Regions from separate parts of the Homo sapiens genome. Here region 1 is linked to region 2. The links are contacts of gene promoters, found by promoter capture Hi-C in blood cells and fetal thymus (Javierre and others, 2016). All regions are on one chromosome and are shown on one strand. Each heading gives the region's core, a stretch centred on a gene start or on the middle of the fragment in contact. The rest is flanking DNA. Distances are from core to core; before and after follow the strand shown.

Region 1 (4,129 bases), core at 1,308-3,807, 140 kb after region 2:
CACCTGTACATACTTGTAGCCATTGTAGGCAAAACTGAGGTTAAATACAAATATGGGAAATTTCTTGCTGTGGTTGAAAACAGAGGCTACCGATAGTACCCACGTTTTTTGGGTTTCTTTGGTGGTGGGGTAGTGAAACTCTGGAGTCAATATCAACAAGTCATCTTATGTGAGTCAAGAACTCAATTAATTCCTTTTTTGTTTTTGAAAAATCACATTTGGAAACTGTGTTTTGTAGATAGTTGGGATCCATAATCAGATTATGCAATAGGTAAATAGTGTAGAAGACTCACCCCAGATTTCAAGGAGAAATCTCCTTCTGGGGATTGTCTATTAGTCTGGGAGCAAAAGTATAATAGGTCTGCTTGAAGCCATCCCTAAGCCAATGTGGCCTAAATGTAGTTTCTGGAATAAATTCATCAGGAATACCACATGTGTTTATTAAAATGCATATTCCTGGGCCCTAAACTAGAGGCCAGGAATATACATTCTTGCTGATTACTCATGCTCAGTATATCTGAGAACCTCTGCTGAAACAATGCTGATCAGGTTTACCCCACTTTCACCCACTTCCCTTCTCCCATTTCCCATCTCTCAATACAATCAGCCTTACTTTAAGGAGATCCTTGTGTGTCTATGAACTTCTGGATGGTGAAAATGGTGATTCTCATGTTTGCTGTGATTTCTAACATCTACAGTTGTGCCTTCCAGATAGAAGAGTATTTGATGAGGATTTGTTGAACTGGTTGAATTAAATTGAGAACTAGCATTACAGTCATACTCATGAAACTAGAGCTGTTTGCCTGAGTCATGCTGTACCAGAACAGGAAGAACTAAGGACCGAAGTCTTCCTCACAGTTAGTGCCTAGCTGCTCCCTTTGAGTGGAAAATAGTTTATTTGAAGGGGTTGAGTGGAAGAGGAATATGATCCGATTTCTTTTATTCCATTAATTACAGGGCAGGTTTCCGTTGCCCATTCTCCATTATTCCTGCCAGTGTTTTGCACTGTTCACAGCTCATTGGTACAATCATAACAGAAGATTGTATTTTGCTTTGGTTTTAGTCTTGTTCCTAAGGGAAAAATCAGTGTTGTGTGTTTTCCCAGGGAGATGCTGTACCAGGACACTTTTCCCAAAGGAATGCAGCTTTGATTCACCCATTTTTAATTTTTTTTATTGCTTTAGTTTTATTTCCTTTCTATCCTTGCTAATGTTAATAAAATGCATGCCATAAAGAAATAAACTCCTGAGGACATGAAAGGACAGACCTCATGGCTATTTACTCTGCTGACGGCTCCTGCTCTTTAGCTCCTGCTCTTTAGTACCCGCGCATTCACGAGTTTGAAGCTGGCCCTCCGCGACAGCTTTCTGTTCACAATAGAGCTGCATACTAAACGGGGTTGGTGCCACCCCTCCCTTGCAGTGTGACAAATCTCTGCTAAGAGGATAATGCTAAGTTCTTTCACCATCTGTCTAGTTTTGTTTTCTTCCCTCCCCCACTGCTACCAGGAATGTCTAAAAACATAGTATTCTACAGCTGCGTGGTTTACGTGACTATTACTGTCCAAAGGGGAAACATTCAGTGTTTGCTCTTGAACATTTCCTTTTTTTTGTTTCCTTCCAATACGAACATGATAGTATACATTCAAACACATGAACTTGAACTTGAGTTTGTCACCTAGGAGACTATTTGGTATCAGACTTTACCTGGATGACACTTAATAAACTTTTATTGTTTTCTTATTGGGAATCTACAAATTCTCATCAGAGACCACAGGTGGGATGTCATGAGTAGAGAAAACTGGGGCTTCTGGTAAACATCCTGGAGGGTCCTTGACCTCTTGGGGAGGATGGGGACTCCGCTCAGCTTCCAGCTGCTGAATCTTCCTTTCCTTTTCCTCCAAAACTTCTTTCAGCTGAGTAATTCTCTCAGTCTGAAGGGAAACCTGGGTTGACAGTTCCATTATCAGGCTAATTTTTCTATCACCTTCTTCCACAGGTGGGAGACCTCCACAGAACCCTTCCAGCAAGCTGTCTTCTAAAGCAAACAAGAAAAGGAAAGTCTGAGCAGTTTTGATTAGATTTCCCAGAAGTCAAAGCAAGGAAAAATGAAAAAGCTTCATTTCTCACGTTCTTAAAAGAGAGCACAGATGTTGCATCATCTGGTTAGATACCCTGAGAATAAAATCTGGATCCAGTGAGAGGAAAGATTCTGGGTGCTCATGAAAAAAGAAACAAAACAAAACTTGGGAGCCTCTTGAGAGTGTACAGCATCAGCCCTTGCCAACTCTTGTTTATATGCATTTAACTTTCAGTTAACCATGGGAATAATTCATGAAAATCCAATCTACAAACAAAGGCCATCCTAACGTTCATGTTATTCTTTTCCCTAAGAATCTTTCACAAGAGCTATAATCAAGTAGAATTATGCTTTGATTTGAATTCTAATTCAATTGAAAATAAAAAATGAGGGCCGGACGCGGTGGCTCATGCCTGTAATCCCAGCGCTTTGGGAGGCTGAGGTGGACGGATCACGAGGTCAGGAGATCGAGACCATCCTGGCTAACACGGTGAAACCCGATCCCTACTAAAAATACAAAAAATTAGCCGGGCGTGGTGGCAGGCGCCTGTAGTCCCAGCTACTCGGGAGGCTGAGGCAGGAGAATGGCGTGAACCCAGGAGGCAGAGGTTGCAGTGAGCCGAGATCATGCTACTGCACTCCAGCCTGGGCGACAGAGCGAGACTCTGTGTATAAATAAATAAATAAATAAATAAATAACGAAAAGGTTGCCATTGCCCTTTCTGGGGAAAGTGATAATGAGGAAAGACTAGTTTCTTAACCCAAGTCAGCTTTAGAGTCGGCAAGGATGCAATTTGAGGTGATCCAGGAAAACTCTATTAGCATGGTATTTCCCATACAGATTCATTTCTTTTAGGCCTGAAGTCTTTTTGGCACTTCTTAATAAAATCACAGATACCTCTTGGACATGAAAGCTTATCCTTTATCAATTTCTATCAGTTAACCACTCAGATGAGGATAAAGGCCTGAGTCAGAAAGGACAGAGAGAGGTTCCACAAAGAGATAAAAGATGAGTGGCCATAAGGAGTCCTTGAAAACACACCTCTCTAGCCCATCAAAAAATGCAGCACCTTAAACTCAAGTCCATCTTACTAGCCTTTAGCAGTACCCCACCACTCTCAAAATTTCCAGCATTAAATGTCTCGGAGCTATATAAAAGGCAGACTTAGGTATAAGTAGGAAGAGATATCAAGGGCTTGGGTATCATTTCAGCACTAATGGAGCTTATGGCATGTATGAATGAACCTGATGCGTGGTCTCCACGGTAGATTGTTACAATTGAGGTCCCACATTTATGAGATTCCCAGTGAAAACAAATCTCACAGCTTCACCTGAGAGAAACATTACTGTCAGTCTCAGATACAAAAGCCTGCTGCTATTAGGTACCTATACACCTGCTGAAAATGGACCAGCTTTGCTGTAGTAGTGCGCGCAGGCAAAAAAAAAAAAAAACATAAAAATAACCCGTTTCTCAACAAATAAAATTAATTGGCAGTCATCACATTCCCAAGGGATCAAGGGGTAAAATCTTTGGCAGCATATTGCACAGTGGGCAGGGTGTTTTTGGCTTCATAAAAGTGATAAGAGGAGACAACAGGCTATTCTCTGCTCTTAGAAATTATTAGCTCTTTACTAACATTTAAGAATCCATGGGGAAATTTTTGCTCTGAATTTGTTAGAATGTTTAATATTATAACAATAATATTTAAGATGTTGGTTTGAAGGTGGGGCACGGTGGCTCACGCCTGTAATCCCAGCACTTTGGGAGGCTGAAGCAGGTGGATTACTTGAGGTCAGGAGTTTAAGACCAGCCTGGCCAAATGGTGAAACCTCATCTCTACTAAAAATACAAATATTAGCCAGGTGTGGTGGTGCACACCTGTAATCCCAGCTACTCGGGAGGCTGAGGCTCGAGAATCACTTCAACCTGGGAGTTGCAGGTTGCATTGAGCTGAGATTGTGCCACAGCATTCCAGCCTGGGCGACAGAGTGAGACTCCATCTCAAAAAAAAAAAAAAAAAAAAAAAAAGATGTTGGTTTGAGTGCCTTT
Region 2 (4,058 bases), core at 1,272-3,771:
GAGAACTTGAAGTGCTTTGTTATTGAGATAATTTAATTTAAAGTAGCAAAAACTTCCCTAGGAAGCATATAAGCTCAACATATATACCTTTCAATTGGATGTCTTTCTAAAACTTATGGGTAAATACAGATCACTTTACTGCTCACATACTTGGCTTTGGTAAAATAAATCTAAAATATATCTGTATAATATTTTCATTAGTAAAACTGTCCTAAGATAATGAAAATTGCCAGCTCCATATCTACTTTTGTCTACAATGATTTTTGAGTTTTGAAAAGAAAAAAGAATAGACTTGATAGAAACTACAGGAGTATGAATAAAAAATGTTTTAGACATTGTTTTGCTTCTGATTATGACAAAATACCACAATGGAATAACAAGAATAGTATTATCTAAAGCTAAATGATCTCAGGCTTTTAAACAATCAATAAGCTGTAAGAGCTCTGTAATTACCTCTGTGTGAATGTTACATTATCAAACACTGGGACAAGTACAATCTTGTATGAAATCACTGTATGAGATCAAATAATCATATCCAAAAGAAATCACATACTGGATTTAAACTTGTCCAAACTGTGATCATTTCAACCTATGTGGTACCATCCTCTTGCGTTCACAAATTCCATCAATGTAGTCATTACACACTTGTAAAGGAAGACTTCAAGTAATCCCGGCTCATAAAAAAGTTAAACATTAACGAAATCTCAAAAGCATCAATGTTATCTCAAAACAGTGACATTGAACGCTGAAGAAATAAGTCTTATGTGACCATAAAAAATAGTTACAAAAATCAATGAGTTTATGGGGATGGTTTTCTGTTTACAAAGTGTAACTGCTTATGGCAAAGACCCCACAGGTCTTTCTGGTCATCCTCTACAGAAAAACCAATTCTCCTGTTTCCCTTTTTTCTTTAAAGACTCGCCTCTGTCCCTTTTTTTTTAAATATACACCTCTCCCAAAACGTTTTCATCGCAAAAAAAAAGAGTTATGCCATTATTAGGAACAGCGTGTCCCAAGACAAGATCTCTATGATCCTTTGTATATTCAAGATTGCAAGAATTGAGCTTTAATAACTCATAGACCATAAACACACCCTGTTAAGGTTTTCCTTCAAACAGCAACATTCCCACTCTTGCGATCCCTAATAGGCGTACATAAGCCACACAACACAATCTTTCAAAACGACACAGATGGTAGGTGCTCTCCAACCTCTCTCGAGAGATCCTCACTGCACATTCTCCTCTAAAGGGCCCACAAACACTACTGTCATTCAGAGGGATGGTGACTGTTGAGCGTGGGTGGGAAAGAAAGTGCACACGAGATACCTAACTGGATGGGGAAGGTTGTTAGAGGCAGCCCTCCGGTATCACGTAACTAGCCAAACCCGCTACAAACTTTTGAGAGATTAAGTTAACATTCCTCGGCAATTCCACCCTTGACAGCTGAATCCAGAGATGCCAGCAAGTCGTGCACGTCTACTACTCCCGCCACCTCAACTCGGGAAGAGTCTGCAGCCACATCCCGCGGTCGGCATGCACCAGGGGCTGGGGAAGAAGGGAGGGCTGGGCGAGCTCACCTTTTCCAGCTCGTCGTGGAGCTCCGCCAGGCTAGGCCGGAGCAGCTTCTCGCCCAGCTGCGCGGCTGTGTGCCGGTAGTGATCGATCCTGGGCACAGCGTCCATGGTGTTGTGGCCGAAGGTGCGCAGGTAGTAGGTGTTGGTGTGGGTATCATAATAGTAGTGCTGGTGGTGCCCACTGCCGCCGCCGCCGCCGGAGTGCAGGCTGCTGCCCTCGCTCAGCACCGTGTCCCCGCCGTTCTGGAAGCTCACGTTGGGCCCGTCGACTCCGACCCCGGCAGCATCTGACAGGCTGTCTTCAGCCGACGAGGAGGCAGCTGGGTCCACGAAGTTCACGCGGAAGCGGCCCTTGGCTTCCTCGCTGCCTTTAGCCGGCTCGCTCTCGCCGCTGGCTTCCCCGTCCGCGGGGGTCTGCTTGGCCCCCGCCCCAGCACCAGCCGCCGCCGCTGCCGCCGCCGCCGCCGCCGCCGCAGCAGCGGCCCGCCCGGCGTTCTCGGAAACCAGGTCCACCTGGAAACGGCTCTGGCTCGGGGTGGGCCCCAAGGGTCTGCCCAGCCCGTCCCCGGCCGCCGCGGGGCCCTCATCGCGGACCCCGCCGCCGTCCCGGCTCGCGGGCGCAGCATCCTCCGGCACCGAGGGCACAGCCGTGCCGGGCAGTTCCACCCTGGCTGCGGCCAGCGCAGCGGCTGACGGCGTCTCCCCGACCCCGGCCAGTCCCGGGGCGCCGGAGGAGGGCGCCGTGGGCCGCGGCTCCATAGCTGCCCGACCCCCGGCGGAACTGCAGAGCCCGGCGGACGTCTCCGGCAGCACGCCCTCCACACCCCTGGCCGGCGGTGGCCACAGCCGCAAGACCAGGTGAGAGAGTCTTTCTCCCCGCCGCCTGCGGGCCGCCGCTAGCCTGGACGGCCACAGAGGCCACCGGCAGCCGAGCGAGCGCGCGAGTGTGGCGGGCGCGGGGCGGGCCCCGCTGTTTAAAGCCTCGGCGGGGCTGCGGCGGCGGCGGCTCCGGCAGCAGCACGCGGGAGGCGGGGCCGGAGGCTCCTCCGCCCCTCAGCCCGCCCACCCGCGGTCCCGCAGCGGCGCGCGGCTGACGCTCCCTCAGCGATCCGGCCCTCCGCGGCTCCTGCGCGACCCCACGCAAAAGCGCCCCGTGCGAAGAGCGCGGCCAGCCAGTCCGCAAAGGGCCTCGGGCAGTGCGGGCAGCACGAACGGCGCGATCGGGGAGCAGGCGCGGCTACGCTCCGCCTCAGTGATGTCGCCGGGAGGATCTCCGCGCGGCTACCTCCTCTTCCGCCGCCTTCCTCCCACGCCTTCACCTCCCTCCCCCGCCGCGCTCTGCGGCGAAAAGGAGCGGGCTCCCAGGCCACCTCCCCTCTCTCCACCCAGGGGCCGCGCGTCAGTGGACCTGCAGCCCAGGCAACGGGGCTGCGGACGGCGCGCGTGCCCTGCCTCGCCTCACGCCGGTAGCTGATGCTCCCGCGGCAGCTGCCACCCCAGCGCCCCAGCCACGGCTTCAGAGGCTCTCGCACGCTGGCTTTTTTTTTTTCCCCCCGCTTTGGTGAACTCGCAGTACTTGGGCTGAGCCCGAAATCTCGCGAGATGCTGCAGGCGTCAGTGCGGCTTCCCACTAGGCGCGTGGTACCCGAGGCCGGGCCGGAGCCGCAGGCCAGCCGCGATTCCTTCGGGCGATGCTGGGGGCTTTCCGGTCGGGGCCGCAGCCGCTTCCGGAGCCGCGGGCGAGGTGCGTTCCCCAGCCTGGTTTGCTCTGGGCTCTGACCCGCCGCCGCGAATCTCCGCTCGTAACTCCGGGCCTGAACCTGGAGGAGGGAGGATTTCCTCTGTGCAGCTTTCGAGCGGTAGACTCACCCTGCCAGGCAGACCTAGATTGGCATAACCAGAGATCAGTTCCAGTTGTGATGCAGTGGGTGTCTACACACTTCTGATGACACCTTTATTTTAAAAGCTGATGTTCCAAGGTGAGAAGGGAGCTTCTTTGAGACGTCATGTTGTTTCAAGACGAGTTTTAATTTAAGGCATTTCCAAAAGTGATATGCAGCTCATCTCTCAGAATACAATGCCGGCAATAACTACCCGTGGAGTCCTTACCAGGAGGTTTCTGCGTGATTTGGGTTGTGCAGAATTCCTCTGCTTATATAGAAACAGAAAGGTACTCCTCTGCAGGTCTAGTTTCTCTTCGGTAAAATGTAAGGGAATATAACTGTGTTCCCACTTTCTTAGCAGCAGAAATTTTTAAACCTATAGATTATGCCCAAAGTCCTAAGTAAAATCAATGAATGGCGTCCTCCAATTACTTGGTTTTTATTTATGTACTTTTTTTTTTTTTTTTTGAGACGGAGTCTCGCTCTGTCGCCCAAGCTGTAGTGCAGGGGTGCGATCTTGGCTCACTGCAAACTCCGCCTCCTGGGTTCACGCCATTCTCCTCCTGCCTCAGCCTCCTGAGTAGTTGGGACTACAGGCGCCC

The links. The method cuts DNA at HindIII sites, captures the fragments that hold promoters and counts their contacts. A CHiCAGO score of 5 or more calls a contact.
Region 1: a fragment that was not itself captured here is called in contact with the fragment with the promoter of SLC12A2 in region 2 in 1 of 17 cell types (endothelial precursors); the score reaches 5.5 in endothelial precursors.

What each region holds. Positions count from the first base shown.
Region 1 is chr5:127,939,090-127,943,218 of GRCh38, reverse strand. CCDC192 (coiled-coil domain containing 192) reads right to left here. Exons shown (of 7, transcript NM_001317938.2): 7 at 1,712-2,037. The coding sequence ends at 1,751. SLC12A2-DT (SLC12A2 divergent transcript) reads left to right here. Exons shown (of 4, transcript NR_152813.1): 4 at 1,999-2,779. Among named protein-coding and RNA genes, the nearest start is that of SLC12A2-DT, 140 kb to the left of the region's middle. The HindIII fragment of the contact is 877 bases long and covers 2,119-2,995 here.
Region 2 is chr5:128,082,229-128,086,286 of GRCh38, reverse strand. SLC12A2 (solute carrier family 12 member 2) reads right to left here and starts at 2,521. Exons shown (of 27, transcript NM_001046.3): 1 at 1,577-2,521. The coding sequence starts at 2,332. SLC12A2-DT (SLC12A2 divergent transcript) reads left to right here and starts at 3,112. Exons shown (of 4, transcript NR_152813.1): 1 at 3,112-3,317. RefSeq lists an enhancer at 1,368-1,537 and a silencer at 2,028-2,857. The HindIII fragment of the contact is 20,683 bases long and covers 1-4,058 here.